Regions from separate parts of the Homo sapiens genome. Here regions 1 and 3 are each linked to region 2. Evidence: promoter capture Hi-C in human tissues and cell types (Jung and others, 2019). All regions are on one chromosome and are shown on one strand. Each heading gives the region's core, a stretch centred on a gene start or on the middle of the fragment in contact. The rest is flanking DNA. Distances are from core to core; before and after follow the strand shown.

What was found. The method cuts DNA at HindIII sites, captures the fragments that hold promoters and counts their contacts. A contact is called where the count stands out against the background at its distance.
Region 1: a contact is called between the fragment with the promoter of GSS here and a fragment that was not itself captured in region 2, in 2 of the 25 tissues and cell types used here (dorsolateral prefrontal cortex and lymphoblastoid cells).
Region 3: the fragment with the promoter of RBM39 here is called in contact with a fragment that was not itself captured in region 2 in 2 of the 25 tissues and cell types used here (dorsolateral prefrontal cortex and spleen).

Annotation. Positions count from the first base shown.
Region 1 is chr20:34,954,251-34,958,729 of GRCh38, reverse strand. It overlaps GSS (glutathione synthetase), which reads left to right and starts at 2,924. Exons shown (of 13, transcript NM_000178.4): 1 at 2,924-3,003. MYH7B (myosin heavy chain 7B) reads right to left here and starts at 2,862. Exons shown (of 45, transcript NM_020884.7): 1 at 2,723-2,862; 2 at 518-632. RefSeq lists enhancers at 2,597-2,776, 3,017-3,116. The HindIII fragment of the contact is 12,827 bases long and covers 1-4,479 here.
Region 2 is chr20:35,266,054-35,271,093 of GRCh38, reverse strand. The region is part of intron 2 of MMP24-AS1-EDEM2 (MMP24-AS1-EDEM2 readthrough); the gene reads left to right. It overlaps MMP24 (matrix metallopeptidase 24), which reads right to left. Exons shown (of 9, transcript NM_006690.4): 6 at 3,675-3,889; 7 at 1,196-1,334. Among named protein-coding and RNA genes, the nearest start is that of MMP24-AS1-EDEM2, 9.5 kb to the left of the region's middle. The HindIII fragment of the contact is 9,806 bases long and covers 1-5,040 here.
Region 3 is chr20:35,740,196-35,745,047 of GRCh38, reverse strand. RBM39 (RNA binding motif protein 39) reads left to right here and starts at 2,788. Exons shown (of 17, transcript NM_184234.3): 1 at 2,788-3,107; 2 at 4,161-4,224. The coding sequence starts at 4,174. RefSeq lists enhancers at 2,349-2,448, 2,619-2,838, 2,200-2,885, 2,899-3,048 and a silencer at 3,309-3,408. The HindIII fragment of the contact is 31,582 bases long and covers 1-4,852 here.

The DNA of each region.
Region 1 (4,479 bases), core at 1,675-4,174, 310 kb after region 2:
CACTTTGAGAGGCAGAGGCGGACGGATCACAAGGTCAGGAGTTTGAGACCAGCCTGATCAACATGGTGAAACCCTGTCTCTCCTAAAAATACAAAAATTAGCCGGGCATGGTGGCACGTGCCTGTAATCCCAGCTACTCAGGAGACTGAGGCAGGAGAATTGTTTGAACCCAGGAGACAGAGGTTGCAGTGAGCCAAGATCGCACCACTGCACTCCAGCCTGGGCAACAGAGTGAGACTCCATCTCAAAAAAAAGAAAAGGATAACGTGATAGACTTATAGGGTGGGGCAGCCTCCAGGGATGAAACATCTGAATGACCAAAGGAGCCAGTCATGCCAGGATTTTGGAGGAAAGCACCCAGGCAGAGAGTGCAGAAAGGGCAAACGCTCCCTGGAAAGATTCTTAGTCAAGAGTCCTTCACTCCCAGTCCTACCACAAACTGGGTCACCTTGAACAAGTCACGTAACTTCTGAGGCTCAGCTGCCACATCTACAAAATGGGAATAAAGACATCTTACCTGCCACATTGTGAGAGGTTTCAACCAAAGGGCTGTTAAGGTCTGGGATCCTCCCCAAATCTCACCATAGACACCTGATACTCATCACTTGGCACCCGTCTTGGAAGAGGGGAACCTGCACAGAGAACCCTGGGTCATGCTTTTGATTTTTAATTTCATGCTGCACTAGAAATAGCTTCTTTTGTTCCTGGTTGACCCAGGAGCCTCTTCCTGCCACCTGGGGCCTATTCTAGTTAACAGCTGCTTATCCCCTCAGGTACAAAAGCCAACGAGGAAAGGACATCAGGAAACATTGTTCTGGGAATAACCAGACACCTATCTGCCACCATCTCCCCCCATCCCGTGACCACACACGGGAGACTGGAGGACTCAGCCTGTCCTGTAGTCAGATAATGTACATGGTTTATTTAAAGAGTCAAAAGGGGCCGGGCGCAGTGGCTAACGCCTGTAATCCTAGCACTCTGGGAGGCTGGGGCGGGTGGATCACCTGAGCTCAAGAGTTTCAGACCAATCTGGCCAACATGGTGAAACCCTGTCTCTACCAAAAATACAAAAATTAGCCGGGTGTGGTGGTGGACGCCTGTAATCCCAGCTACTTGGGAGGCTGAGGCAGGAGAATTGCTTGAACCTGGGAAGTGGAGGTTGCAGTGAGCTGAGATCGTGCCACTGCACTCCAGCCTGGGCAACAACAACGAAAACTCCGTCTCAAAAAAAAAAAAAAAAAAAAAGAGTCAAAAGGATCTTGGTCCCTGGGTTGGGCCACTGATTTACGATCACTAGGAGTTCTCACTCCTAAATTTCTTTGATCTGTTCGCTTCGCTCCATCTCCACAGCTGCTGCACTGGCTACAGCCTCATGATCTCACATCTTAACTCTCTCTGCTTTCTCTGGCCCATCTCCCCACTTCCAAACCATTTGTCACGCTGTAACCAGTGCCTAACACACAAAACTAACCATGTCCTTCCCCTGCTTAAAGCCCTTAGCTCCTGTTGCTCAGTGGAACTGGCGTCTGAGGCTACCTCTCCAAGCCTAAGCGCCTAAGTCCTGTTGCAACCCTCAGGCCCTTCCTCATTATCCACACCAAACTCCTCAGTGTCTGTAAAACAAGCCGAGCAACCCTCAGAATTATATGCCTTCGCTGCTCGTTTGTTTTGTTTTTAGGACAGGGTCTCACGCTGTCACCCAGGCAGGAGTGCTGCAGCGTGATCTCAGCTCACAGCAGCCTCCGTCTCCGGGGCTCAAGAATTCTCACGCCGCAGCCTCCCGAGTAGCTGGGATTACAGGCACGGGCCAACACACCCGGCTAATTCTTGTATTTCTAGTAGAGACGGGGTTTCGCCATGTTGCCCAGCCTGGTCTCCAACTCCTGAGCTCAAGTAATCCACCTGCCTCGGCCTCTCAAAGTGCTGGGATTACAGGTCTGAGCCACTGCACCCAGCCAGCCTTTGCTGCTTTTGTTCCTGCAATTTGGAACACTGTCCCCATCCCAGCCTCTCACCTCTACCCCTACCTCCTTCACTACCTATACCTTCCTATCCATCCTTCAAGACCCCAAAAACCATCCCTGATTCCTTCAGAAAGGCAGTTTATTGCCTATCTTATCAGACTGAAAGCAGTGGCTGTGTCTTATTTATGGTTAATTCCCTAGAAGCTGGACTGATACATTCCATTTAACTAAAATTCGTATCAGGTGCTTCGGACTGCAGACAAGCCTATCACAACCCAGAAGGAAGAAACAGGGAAGGCACCTGGGGGCTGCCAAGCAATGAGGTGGGGGGTAGGAATCATGAATCCGCATATTTTTAAAAACTGCCCCAGATCCTGATGTAAACGGTACAAGAGAGTCTGAGAAACACAGGGCTCCCCTCAAACAGTCCTGACTTCAGCATTCCTGGAAAAATGAAAATCCTTTCCTTTTGCCTCTAATGCTTTCCCTGCTGGTATCCCAGGTTAAAAAAAAATAGATAAAATCAGGGGGATTTTTCTGGGACTTGGCTGGGCTGGGAAACAAGCCTGGGTTCTAATACAGGCTCAGCCCCTGACGTACTATGGGCCCCTGCCCCTCCTTGGGGCCTCCATTACCACGGCCACCCCCACCCTTATCAATTGTGTGCCCCTGAGGTAGTGACTGTCCCGCTCTGAGCATTAGTTTCCCCATCTTCCACTAGTCGTCGTCAGCTCTGACGCTCTATGAGCTATGCATACCCGTAGCTCCCCGCCGACCCCGATGGTCCCCTCCCCTCCTTCCCAAGGTCCATCCGCCAGGGTGCAGCCGACGCACTCCTAATGCTAAGGCCGCCCTCTCATCGACCGCCCCTTCCTGGCCTCGACTCAGCGCCAAAGGTATGGGTCTCTGCCCCGCCTGCTCTTTAAGCCTAGCCGGGGCGGTCAGCGCAAGCGCACTGGGTCGCATCGAGGCCCCGCCCCCTGAGCCTGGGTAGCGGCGCGAGGGCCGGGAGAACCGTTCGCGGAGGAAAGGCGAACTAGTAGGTTGGGGCGGCCACGGCGGCCGGCATGGGTCACGTTTCCTCGGGAGGAACGATGTGAGGGAGGGGTCTGGCAAGAGATTGGAATTCCGGAGGCCGGGAGACCTTGTGGCTGAAACCCTTCGTAGGAGCGGGGCAACTAGTGTCTAGTGAGGGGGTTGGGCTGGCGCGCACTGATCCCAGACTTTCCGGATCTTCTGCCTTTAGATCGGGCCGGTGTCGGGGCATGTAGGCCAGTGAGACTGGAGCCAGTTAGAGCTACAACGGGGAGCGATTAGGGCCAAACTTTGTCCAGGGTGGAAGCGAGCGGGCCCGTGAAGTGGGGCCAGCCTGGGCAGCCGACCGTGTCGTTGCCTCGGGGCCTTTCCAGGCACTGGCCTAAGTCCTGGCGATAAAGTGCGACCGATTTCCTTGTGGGCGTTTTGAGGCTTTCGGTGATCTGACCCGTCTGTCATTCATTCTTCATTCATTCATGTGATGAATGAATACAGTACTAAGCGCGGCTAATTACTAGGTAGAGAAGTGATCAAGACAAACACTGTTCCTACGGTACAGGGAAAAGTGATGGGCTGTAGAATGTAGAAGCCCGGGGCGGAGAACAGGGACAGCTTCCGGAACGAAATCGCGAGCCCAGATCAGGAGTGGTGGCGAGAGTTCCAAAGAGAAGACAGCACGTGCCAAGTCCTGGAAGGGGGACAGAGGCCAACATATCCTGGTCACTGAAGACACCTGACTCTGAATCTGTTTCACGCCCAGGGAAGAGATGACAGTGGCCGGGGCTAGGCTACAAACTCTGGAAATGGAGATAAATAAAGGAATTCAAAGTACTATATACTTAGGCAGCAAAATCCATAGGATTTGGGGAGAGTGAGATGTAGGAAACAAGTACTCAAGGCTTGGGTACCTGGGTGGGGTTCATCAGAGAAGAAGCAGATTTGTGGGAGACAACAACAAATTCTATTCTGGTTGTATGGAGACTCGCAGGAAAAAATTGGATATTCTAGTTTGAAGGTAGGAAAGTATTGCTGTGAAGATGTAGATTTGAATGTCATCAGCAAAACATAAATAAAGCCAAGGGAGGGTTGAGGCTGTAGAATGAGAAAAACAAAGGGCCCACTTAGCACCTTCATCTGATTTCTTTTCTTTCTTTCTTTTTTTCTTTTTTTTTTTTTTTGACAGAGCTTTGCTCTTGTTGCCCAGGCTGGAGTGCAATGGCACGATCTCGGCTCACTACAACCTCCACCTCCTGGGTTCAAGCTATTCTCCTGCCTCAGCCTCCCAAGTAGCTCGGATTACAGGCATGCGCCACCAGGCCCGGCTAATTTTGTATTTTTAGTAGAGATGGGGTTTCTCCATGTTGGTGAGGCTGGTCTCGAACTCCCGACCTCGGGTGATCCGCCTGCCTCGGCCTCACAAAGTGCTGGGATTACACGAGTGAGCCACCACACCTGGCCCATGGTGATTATCTTTATGTCT
Region 2 (5,040 bases), core at 2,541-5,040:
CTGTTGACCCTCTCTTTCCTTCTCCTCTCAGTATTCAGCCACTTCTTTTTTTTAAGATGGAGTTTGGCTCTTGTTGCCCAGGCTGGAGTGCAATGGTGTGATCTCAGCTCACCACAACCTCCACTTCCTGGGTTCAAGCGATTCTCCTGCCTCAGCCTCCTGAGTAGCTAGGATTACAGGCACGTGCCACCATGCTTGGCTAGTTTTTGTAATTTTAGTAGAGACGTGGTTTCACCATGTTGGTCAGGCTGGTCTCAAACTCCTGACCTCAGGTGATCTGCCAGCCTTGGCCTCCCAAAGTGCTGGGATTTCGGGCGTGAGCCACTGCGCCTGGCCGAGTATTCAGCCACTTCTGAGGCCCTCTGACTCTCCTGGCAGCTGTCCCCTGCCCTTCAGCTGCACGGCTCCTCCCTCATTTGGGCCTCATGAGTGGCGCGCTCCAGAACCACCTCAGAAATGGCTGCCCTGCCCCTGCCATGTCTGTCACCTCCTGCCCTCTGGCTCTCTGCTGCTCGGAAACATTCCATGAATTTCCAGCCTTGGCCTAATGGATCAAGACCACATTCTGGCCTGGCAGCCAGGGCTCTTCAGGATTTGCCTCCAAATGACCTTTCTGGGCCATTTCTCACAGCTTTCCAAGGCGGGGCCTCCGTGGCCATCAGGTGGGCCTTCTAAGCCCTGTGGCCGTCCGTACACATCCCAGCCCTGCTCCTTTATTCAGCCGTTGTCCCTCTGGAATGCCTTCCTTGCTTCTCACTATCTGTATCTCACCCATCTGAGGTCTGGCCCGAGTCAAGATAACTGTCATGAAACAACCTAGCACAGTGCTGGGTACAGGGTGGGCACCTTAGCTCCCTCCCACACCCTCCCCCGACCTCCCCAGCTTGAGTGACCTCTTCCCTCTGGGTTCTTACAGAACTGACCCGATGGCCTCCCATGAGGTACTGGGTGGTCTTCAATTGCTTGTCCCACACTCTACTTCATGTGGACGAAGCTGGTCACCCCACCAATCTCGGCACATACAGATTCTCAGTCTCACTTTCTGACTTGATTTGTCAGAGGTCAGTGTCTCCGTTAGACTAGAGGGGCCCTCTGAGGACATCTGCCTCCCACCCCGCCTCTTCCAGTTTAGATGGGAAAAAGGAGGTCCCAAGACCTTGGGCAGGGAACTGTCCCACAGCACAGTCTACATTACCTTTGAAGAAGACAAATCTCCCATCGGCCCTTTCATAGGCTGCGTCGATGCGGGCAGGCAGGCCCTTCCAGAACTGCTCGATCTGCATGGGGTAGCCCTCCTGCACTCGGTTATTGCGCAGACGCCAGAACCAGCGATCCTGGGAGGAAGCGGGAGAGGGGGAGAGAGGTGTGTCAGGCCCTGCCTCCGAACCCAGTGATTGCAGCTGTGGGGCTTAGGTCCCAACAGCCCAGCCCTCCACCGAGACTGTCCATTAGCTGCTTCTGACTTTTAAAGCCCTGGGAGGAAGACAGGATGCTCCTGTAACTGTCTTCAATTCAGCCTCCTGCTGACTCTTGCTGCTGGGTGGACAATGAGACAAACAGCAGACAGGCCTGGTGTGGAAAAGGAGGTGTGAGGGAGCCGGAAAGGATGATGTTGGGGCCTGGAGTGGCCACATGGGGGCAGTGGAGCGTCACTGACATCAGCCAGACTGGTCCTCGGGACAGTGGGAGGCTGGGGTGGTCACTGAGCCTGGGCCGAGCGCCCTCCATGAGGCTGGCTCCATCCAGCAGGGCCAGGATCATGGAAGCCAAGTCATGGGAATTCCCTCGAGACCTGGGCATGAATTCACATTCCTCCATTTATAGCTGCATGACCTAGGCCTCACCTGCAAGTGCAGGTAATAATGGAGAATCAGATGAGAGATTCTAGGCAAAATGCCCAGACCAGTACGGGGCACACAGTCCATGTTGAGTAAATGGCAGCTAAATAGTCCGAGTCCAGTAAAAACGCCTCTTGTAACTGGTGCCTCAGTCTTGGGCTGGTACACAAGCAGTCTAGGCAAGGCCTGTAGCCTCCAGGCCTCAGTTTTCTTTCTTTTTTTTTTTTTTTAGATGGAGTCTCGCTCTGTCACCCAGGCTGGAGTGCAGTGGCGCAATCTCGGCTCACTGCAAGCTCCGCCTCCCAGGTTCATGCTATTCTCCTGCCTCAGCCTCCTGAGTAGCTGGGACTACAGGCGCCCGCCACCACACCCGGCTAATTTTTTATATTTTTAGTAGAGATGGGGTTTCACCATGTTAGCCAGGATGGTCTTGATCTCCTGACCTTATGATCCGCCCTCCTTGGCCTCCCAAAGTGTTGGGATTGCAAGGCGTGAGCCACTGCGCCCAGCCTCCAGGCCTCAGTTTTCTTATGTGTAAATGGGGATGATAAAACCCGGACCTGCCTATGAACGGTTCAGTTGGATCAAAGTAGAATGAGTGCAGAAGAAGAAGCATGATTTGTAAAAGATGGTACAAAAGCTAGTATTTTAAAAGGTGTTTTACAAAGCACTTTCACATCCAGGTTTTTGACCTTATTTTGACTTTCATGTCTCTGTTAAGTTGATCTGAGATATACGGAGTCTTAAGAAAGGCCAGGTGACTTGCCTAGAGCCACTCAGTGAGAAGCCAGACTGGGGCTGACTCACGCTGCCCGATTCCTGCGCAGTGCTCAGTGCGTGCTGGGAGAACTCCACAAGGGGAGCGAGGCAGCCTCTTTCACCATCCTGTGTGATGGAGCCACCCTGCCCAGATCCCCTTCAGAGAAGGGCTTGTTGCCCCAGTGGCCAGCAGTGTGGCCAGCAGGCAGTTTTCAACTGTCAGCCCCTTTGGGGATGTTCCCTGCTTCAGAGAGCTCTCCTCAGTCACTGGATGCCCTTCCTCATCCAGTGATTGAATGAGGTAGGGGTTATAATGTTCCAGATATTTTGGACCCAACGTAGGCTGAGTGACAGGCCACCGTAGCCCCAGAGCTCCCTGCGGGGGTGGCTGAGGCTGCCATGGGCCTCTGTTGCCACTTAACCTCTCCCTCTTCCCTGTCCTGCTTCCTTCTCCCCCTCACAAATGTTGATTCTGAAAGTACTCTCTAATCGAAATCCTGCATTCCAGACCCCACCTCAGAGTTCACTCCCCGAGAGCCCAACCTGCAACACGTCAAGCAGACTGCCACCCTGTCAGTCCATGGCTGATGGAGGACAGATGACAAGATATACCCTGGGCTGCTGCCAGTAGCAGCCCCTCAAGCCTTGGTAGGGTCTGGAGTCAGACTCAGCCACCACTGACCTAGCCCCTACTCCAAGTTGACCATCTTCAGAGCCGGGTACTCACTGGATCTTCACACACTCTTTGTTAGAGGAATGACTCCCCCAGGTTTCGGATGGAGAAACTGAGGTCCCAAGAAGGGTGGTCACAGACCAGAAGCCAGCTTCCAGCACTTTCTCCCAGCATTAACCCCAGGGGAGGTGAGGGATCACCCATCTTTCCCCCTCCCTCTTGGGAACAGTTGATTCACCCAGCAGCACTAGGAAGAGACCCCATGCCCTGGCCACTGGGCTAGCTCCTGTCCAGGCCCCATTGTAATCGAATCCCAAATCAGGAGCCTTCCCCAGCTCCATGATGTCGGGGAGGAGGAGGAAAGGTCAGGGGCCAGCTGGGTGGTGCCAATCCATTGGCCCTACCTTAAAGACAAACATCTCGCCCCGGAAGAGGGCCACTGTGTTGAAGTTGCCGTCACAGATGTTGGGTTTGGTGCCTGGTGTGGATGGCCGGTCCCCGAGGGGCGGCCGAGGGGGCCTGGGCTGGCGCTCGTGTTTCCTCTCCGATGGTGAGTGGATCCTGCGGACGGGGAGTGTAGGGAGTGGCCTTGTGGGCTCCAGAGGCTCGGCTGGGGGTCCTGGAGAGAGGAGCTGCATCTTAGAGAGGGGGCAGCCGTTTCCCGCCTCCCATTGCCAGTCTCAGCATCACCCAGGCAGCTCTGAGACAAGTCTGTCCCAGTTCAGCCTCCTGTTCCCTCTCCCCAGTTTAACTCCCCCAGTCTTTGAGAAAATGGATGAAAATAGCCATTAGAATGGGACTCTCATCTTTCCATCCCCGAATCTGGTATCTTCTCTTTTCTCTCTCCTGTTACAGAGCAATCATGTCCTTCCTTAGGGTCAGCGCTCTTCCTTAGGCCATACCCTCTTTGCCCCCTTCACACGCACTGGCCCCACTTCCTCACCCCCTTCATTTATTCTCTTTCCCACCCCAGTGCAGCTTCTACCCGTCACCCACTCCAACTGCTCTGCCAAGATCATCCAATGGTTACTTGACTCAGACTTTAATAAGCACATGCATCATCTGGGGATGTTGCTAAAATGCAGATGAGGGCTCAGAGGGCCTGGGGTGGGGCCTGAGAGTTTGCATTCCTTCACACTCTCAGGTGATGCTGATGCTGCTGGTCTGAAGACTACATTTTGAGCAGCAAGATTCATAGAAACACTTTCCTGGAAACACTCTCTTGGTTGTCCTCCTGCCTCATGGGCTGTTCTTTCTCAGTCTCCTTTGCTGGCTGCGTGTCCTCATCTGCCCTACTCTAGAGGCTGGCGTGCCCTTGGGTCCTCTTCTCTTCCGTCTCTACATTTTCATCCTTAGGTCAGTGCTTCTTCACTTGGGCTGCATATTAGGATCACCTTTGGGAGCTTTTCAAACTGGATGTTCAGGAAGCACCAGGCCAGCTCTCCAACTTTTTTTTTTTTTTTTTTTTTTTTGAGAAGGAGTCTCGCTCCGTCCCCCATGCTGGAGTGCAGTGGCGTGATCTAAGCTCACTGCAACCTCTGCCTCCCAGGTTCAAGTGATTCTCCTGCCTCATCCTCCCAAGTAGCTGGGACTACAGGCACGTACCACCACACCCAGGTGATTTTTTTTTTTTTTTTTTTTTTTTTTTAGCAGAGATGGGGTTTCACCATGTTGACCAGGCTGGTCTTGAACTCCTGACCTCAAGTGATCCACCCACCTTGGCCTCCCAAAGTGCTGGGATTACAGGCGTGAGCCACCACGCCCAATACC
Region 3 (4,852 bases), core at 1,539-4,038, 470 kb before region 2:
AAAACCAAACCACATGTATCTGATAAACATATACATTTAAAATGTACCCTTAATAATTAAAAAATTAAAAATCCACATTGGTAAAATACATTTAGTTTTCAGCCAAATTCTCTAAGTATATTCATTACCTTTTTGGCTCTATTTCAAGCTCTATTCCTCCATCTTTTGAAAGCAAAATGATGAAAGGGGAATTAATTTACATAGAAAGTTCATGAACCAGAGTTAGTGAAGTTTTGTAAAGTGAATGAGAAGCATCTTATGTTCGTGATATTTTCTTTTGTGTTAAGAGACAGGGTCTTGCTCTGCAGCCCAGGCTGGGGTGAAGTGGCACGTGATTCTAGCTGACTGCAGTCTTGAAGTCCTGGGCCCAAGCTATCCTCCCATCTCAGCCTCCTGAGTAGTTGGAACTACAGACATGCATCACCACGTCTGGCTAATTTTAAATTTTTTGTAGAGACAGGGTCTTGCTATATTGTCCAGGCTGGTCTCAAACTCCTGGACTCAAGCAATCCTCCTGCCTTGGCCTCTCAAAGTGCTGGGATAACAGGCCATGAGCCGCCATGCCTGGGGATATTTTCTTTTAAACATAAAAAATACTTGTTTCAGAAACTTGATTTTTCCAAACGGCTTTTCTTGATGATCTGCTAAGTTGCCATATTGCCTCTGATGGTCCTTGAGCAGAAAACTATTTAAGGGACCTTAAATCATCAAGCGACTTAGAGCTTAAATCCTTCCTCTTCCCAAACAAGAAGTCTAGCGGTTAAGGTCAAATTCTGTCATGTCATGTTCCTAAACAAACAAGAAAAACCAAGTGCCATCTTCATGCTTTCATTTTGCACTAGTCATAATACTGGAATTACCGAGGGGCAGGAAGAGATAGCAAAGGTTAGCTTGCTTTATTTCTGACATATTATGCTTCAATTTCCTGTGACAGTTTTCTTTTCTTTCTTTTTCTTTCTTTTTTTTTTGAGATGGAGTCTCGATCTCTGTCACCCAGGCTGGAGTGCAATGGCATGATCTCAGCTCACTGCAACCTCTGCCTCCCAGGTTCAAGTGATTCTCCTGCCTCAGCCTCCCGAGTAGCTGGGAATTGCAGGCGCCTGCCACCTAGTTTTTTTTTTATTTTTAGTAGAGACAGGGTTTCGCCATGTTGGTCAGGTCTTGAACTCCTGACCTCAGGCGGTCCACCCGCGTCGGCCTCCCAAAGTGCTGGGATTAGATGCATGAGCCACTGCGCCCAGCCTCCAGAGCGAGACTGTCTCAGAAATAAAATAAAAAGAGGATCTGAATTTTCAGAAAAAGGATTAAGGGAGTATTCTAACTACAAAATAACTGTTATTAATAATCCTCTAAGATAAATCCTAACCTGTGTGTAAAGTTAACCTGAGAGGCAAAACCACTTAACATCTATATTTGCTCTAAATAATTTTGTTTAGCAGAAACAGAAGTTAGCTGTTTTGAAGATCAAATATTTACCAGGCGTTTTACAGACATTATATCATTTAATCTTCACTATAGCCCTTCTGAGCCTTCATTCATTAATTTACTGAGGGTCCACTTGGGCAGACATGCCCTGCTAACCTCTAAAAATTCAGTACTGAGCATTACCTGCCTTCCTCAGTCTCAAGTAGCTTAGACTAGCTACTAAGTACGTCCTCTTTTAAATCAGGAAATGAAAGATCCCCTCTGAGAGGTTAATTTGCTTGTCCAAGGTCACACAGTGTTGCAGCAGCTAGTTACACTAATCAAGGCGTCTCATTTCCAATCTTTTCTGCCCTCAATCATTAGACTGTTAAGATTAGAGGGTAAGATTTTTGCTTTGAAGACTTCTTTCCAGTTTTTTTTCCCAGCATCTAGGAGGAAACCTCACACAGTACTGACCAAAGAACAAATGGCTAATTCATACTCTAATTACCTGGCATCTAGAAGACTTCAGGGGAGAGGAGCCAGGTCCCAGGGGGAAGGGGGCCTTTTTTTTTTTGTTGGGGGGGTGTCTTATTTTTTCACCAAATCGTCCAGTAATATTCAGGAAGGGGAACATTTTTGAAGGAACGGTAGCAACCCTGACACAAGAGCTGATTAAATTCGGGGCACAAAACTGATCCCATGCCAAGGGAAGCAAGAGTTTATTTTTTCCACCTTTTTTTTGCTTTTCTCCACTATTTCCAAGGTTGTTTCAAAGCTCGACAGTGGAGGCCGCGCCATTGGCTCCAAATGACAGGGAAATCTATTTTTATTATCTCCCCCTCTCCCCCTACCCCTAAAGATCTCTTCTTCTGGCCTTCTGATACACTTTTCCACTTCCTCTCCACCCTCAGCGGATAATCTGAATATGGCCGTTTTATCCTATCGCCATAAGGACTAGGTTGCCTTATGGCGACCTTGACAGCCATCTGTGTGGGAGGCCGGAGCGGGGGCGATCGGCTGTGCCGGAGGAATCTTCAGATGGCCGTGAGGAGGCGCCACGAGGGGGAGGTGACCGCTGAGCTCCACTCAGCGAAGAGCTCTCTGAAAGATTGACAGGCAGCCTACCAACTGTCTTTGCCCTAGAGACCCGCTCTGTCTCGCGAGATTTGGGTGCTTACGCGGAGGGGGAGTGAAAGGCGCCTCACTGAATGGGGGATGGGAATATCTGTGGCGCAATCATTGCGCGAGATTGGGCTACGGTCGCCGGAGCCATACTTAGGTCTCGCGATACTTCGGCCGCTCAAATTTGGAGCTTGGGGCAGCTTCTCGCGAGAGCCCGTGCTGAGGGCTCTGTGAGGCCCCGTGTGTTTGTGTGTGTGTATGTGTGCTGGTGAATGTGAGTACAGGGAAGCAGCGGCCGCCATTTCAGGGAGCTTGTCGACGCTGTCGCAGGGGTGGATCCTGAGCTGCCGAAGCCGCCGTCCTGCTCTCCCGCGTGGGCTTCTCTAATTCCATTGTTTTTTTTAGATTCTCTCGGGCCTAGCCGTCCTTGGAACCCGATATTCGGGCTGGGCGGTTCCGCGGCCTGGGCCTAGGGGCTTAACAGTAGCAACAGAAGCGGCGGCGGCGGCAGCAGCAGCAGCAGCAGCAGCAATCTCTTCCCGAACACGAGCACCACAGGCGCCCGAAGGCCGGAACAGGTACGGGGCGTTGCGGACCCGCGTATTATCTCAGCTTTCTCGAGGTTTGGCTCCATTTTGGGCTGAGGGGCGCTTTTGGAGGTCTTTAGCGACCGGGGTGGGGGGTGGTTTTCGAGAAATCGGCCCTGTTTCAGTGACCGCGCCCTTATTTTCCAGTCGGGTATAGTCTGGATTCTTGGGGCGGTAGGGACCCCCGAGAGGCCGCGGTAGAATGGTGACCTGTCTCCTTCGAGGCCTGGGCCGGCCGCGACCTCCCAACATGGCGCCAGTTGAACGCTGCCTTGGCTCATAACCCCTCCCAATGGAGGGAGTTTCTCTTTGCCCCTAAAATGGCAGCGCGGGTTTTTGCCCGGAAAGAGGCGCTCTCGTTCGGGTCTCCCAGTTTCTGTTTTTGGAGTTGACAGCAGAGTTTTAAATATTGGATATTGAAGTCTTCATTTTCGTGTGTTTCGTGTAAGAGGCGTTTTGGATTTACTTACGTAAGCCAAACCTGGTTAAAGTGCATGTCACTTTAGTCATTAATTGTAGGGCTTTTGGAGGTTTTTCTTAAGTTTTCGAGTGTGTCGGCTGAGAAGAAAAATTCAGTCGATTTGAAAAACGTTTACCAGGCCGGGCGCGGTGGCTCACGCCTGTAATCCCAGCAGTTTGGGAGGCAGAGGCAGGCGGATCACTTGAGGTTAGGAGTTCGAGACCAACCTCATCAACATGGTGAAACCCCGTCTCTACCAAAAATACAAAAATTAGCCGGGCGTGGTGGCAGGCGCCTGTGATCCCAGCTATTCGGGAGGTGAGGTGGTAGGATCGCTGGAACCTGGGAGGCGGAGCTTGCAGTGAGCCGAGATCGCGCTACTGCACTTCAGCCTGGGCAACTAGAGCGAAACTCCGTCTCAAAAAAAAAAAAAAAAAAAAAGAAAAATGTTTACTCACGGAATCGTCTTGTTCTTTTCCTAGGCGTTTAGAGAAAATGTTAGACGATATAGGCAACAAGAGTGAAACTTGTTTCACATTGTAAGAGAAATGTTTACTCAAGAAATTGTCTTGTTCTCTTCCTAGGCGTTTAGAGAAAATGGCAGACGATATTGATATTGAAGCAATGCTTGAGGCTCCTTACAAGAAGGTGAGAAAAAACATGTCGGTGAGGTTTATATATTTCTTAATTTAGCATTATTCACGAAACTACTGCTGAAATGTAAACTAACCTCCCCGGAGCCCTCTTGATTTATCTTATCAGAGATGCATTACGTGTAACTTACAAAAGTAAATATATGCTATTGATGTAATAATATTGTGCAGTAGTTTCACTTCAGCGTGATGAATAAATGCCCATCTATCTCTCTTTGTAGACTTGCCTAACGATATCTCACCTCTACTCCCATGAATTCACCTTTGATTCCAGTGTGAACTGTCAATCATAAGGTAGTAATTGAGTGACTTATCGCTGTACCGTGGTCCCCTAGGTAAAATGACTCAACTAAGAATTACCACCTCCAGTTTGGTATAGCAAAAAGGTGAATGTAGTGGTTTGGGAAAAAGCAGGGGTCCAAGAATAACAAAGCATGACCAGTCTGTGGCAAGTTAAATCTTCTAACAGTCTTATAAGAAGAAATGGGTGAGATTTTAAAATTTATGTATCTATGTAAGACTGGTGATAGTAAATCTTAAAACAGTCCAGTGGCAATCTGCTGCTCAGTTAATAATTACTAAAATTCTTGGATCCCTGAATAGAAATTAAAAAAAAAAAATAC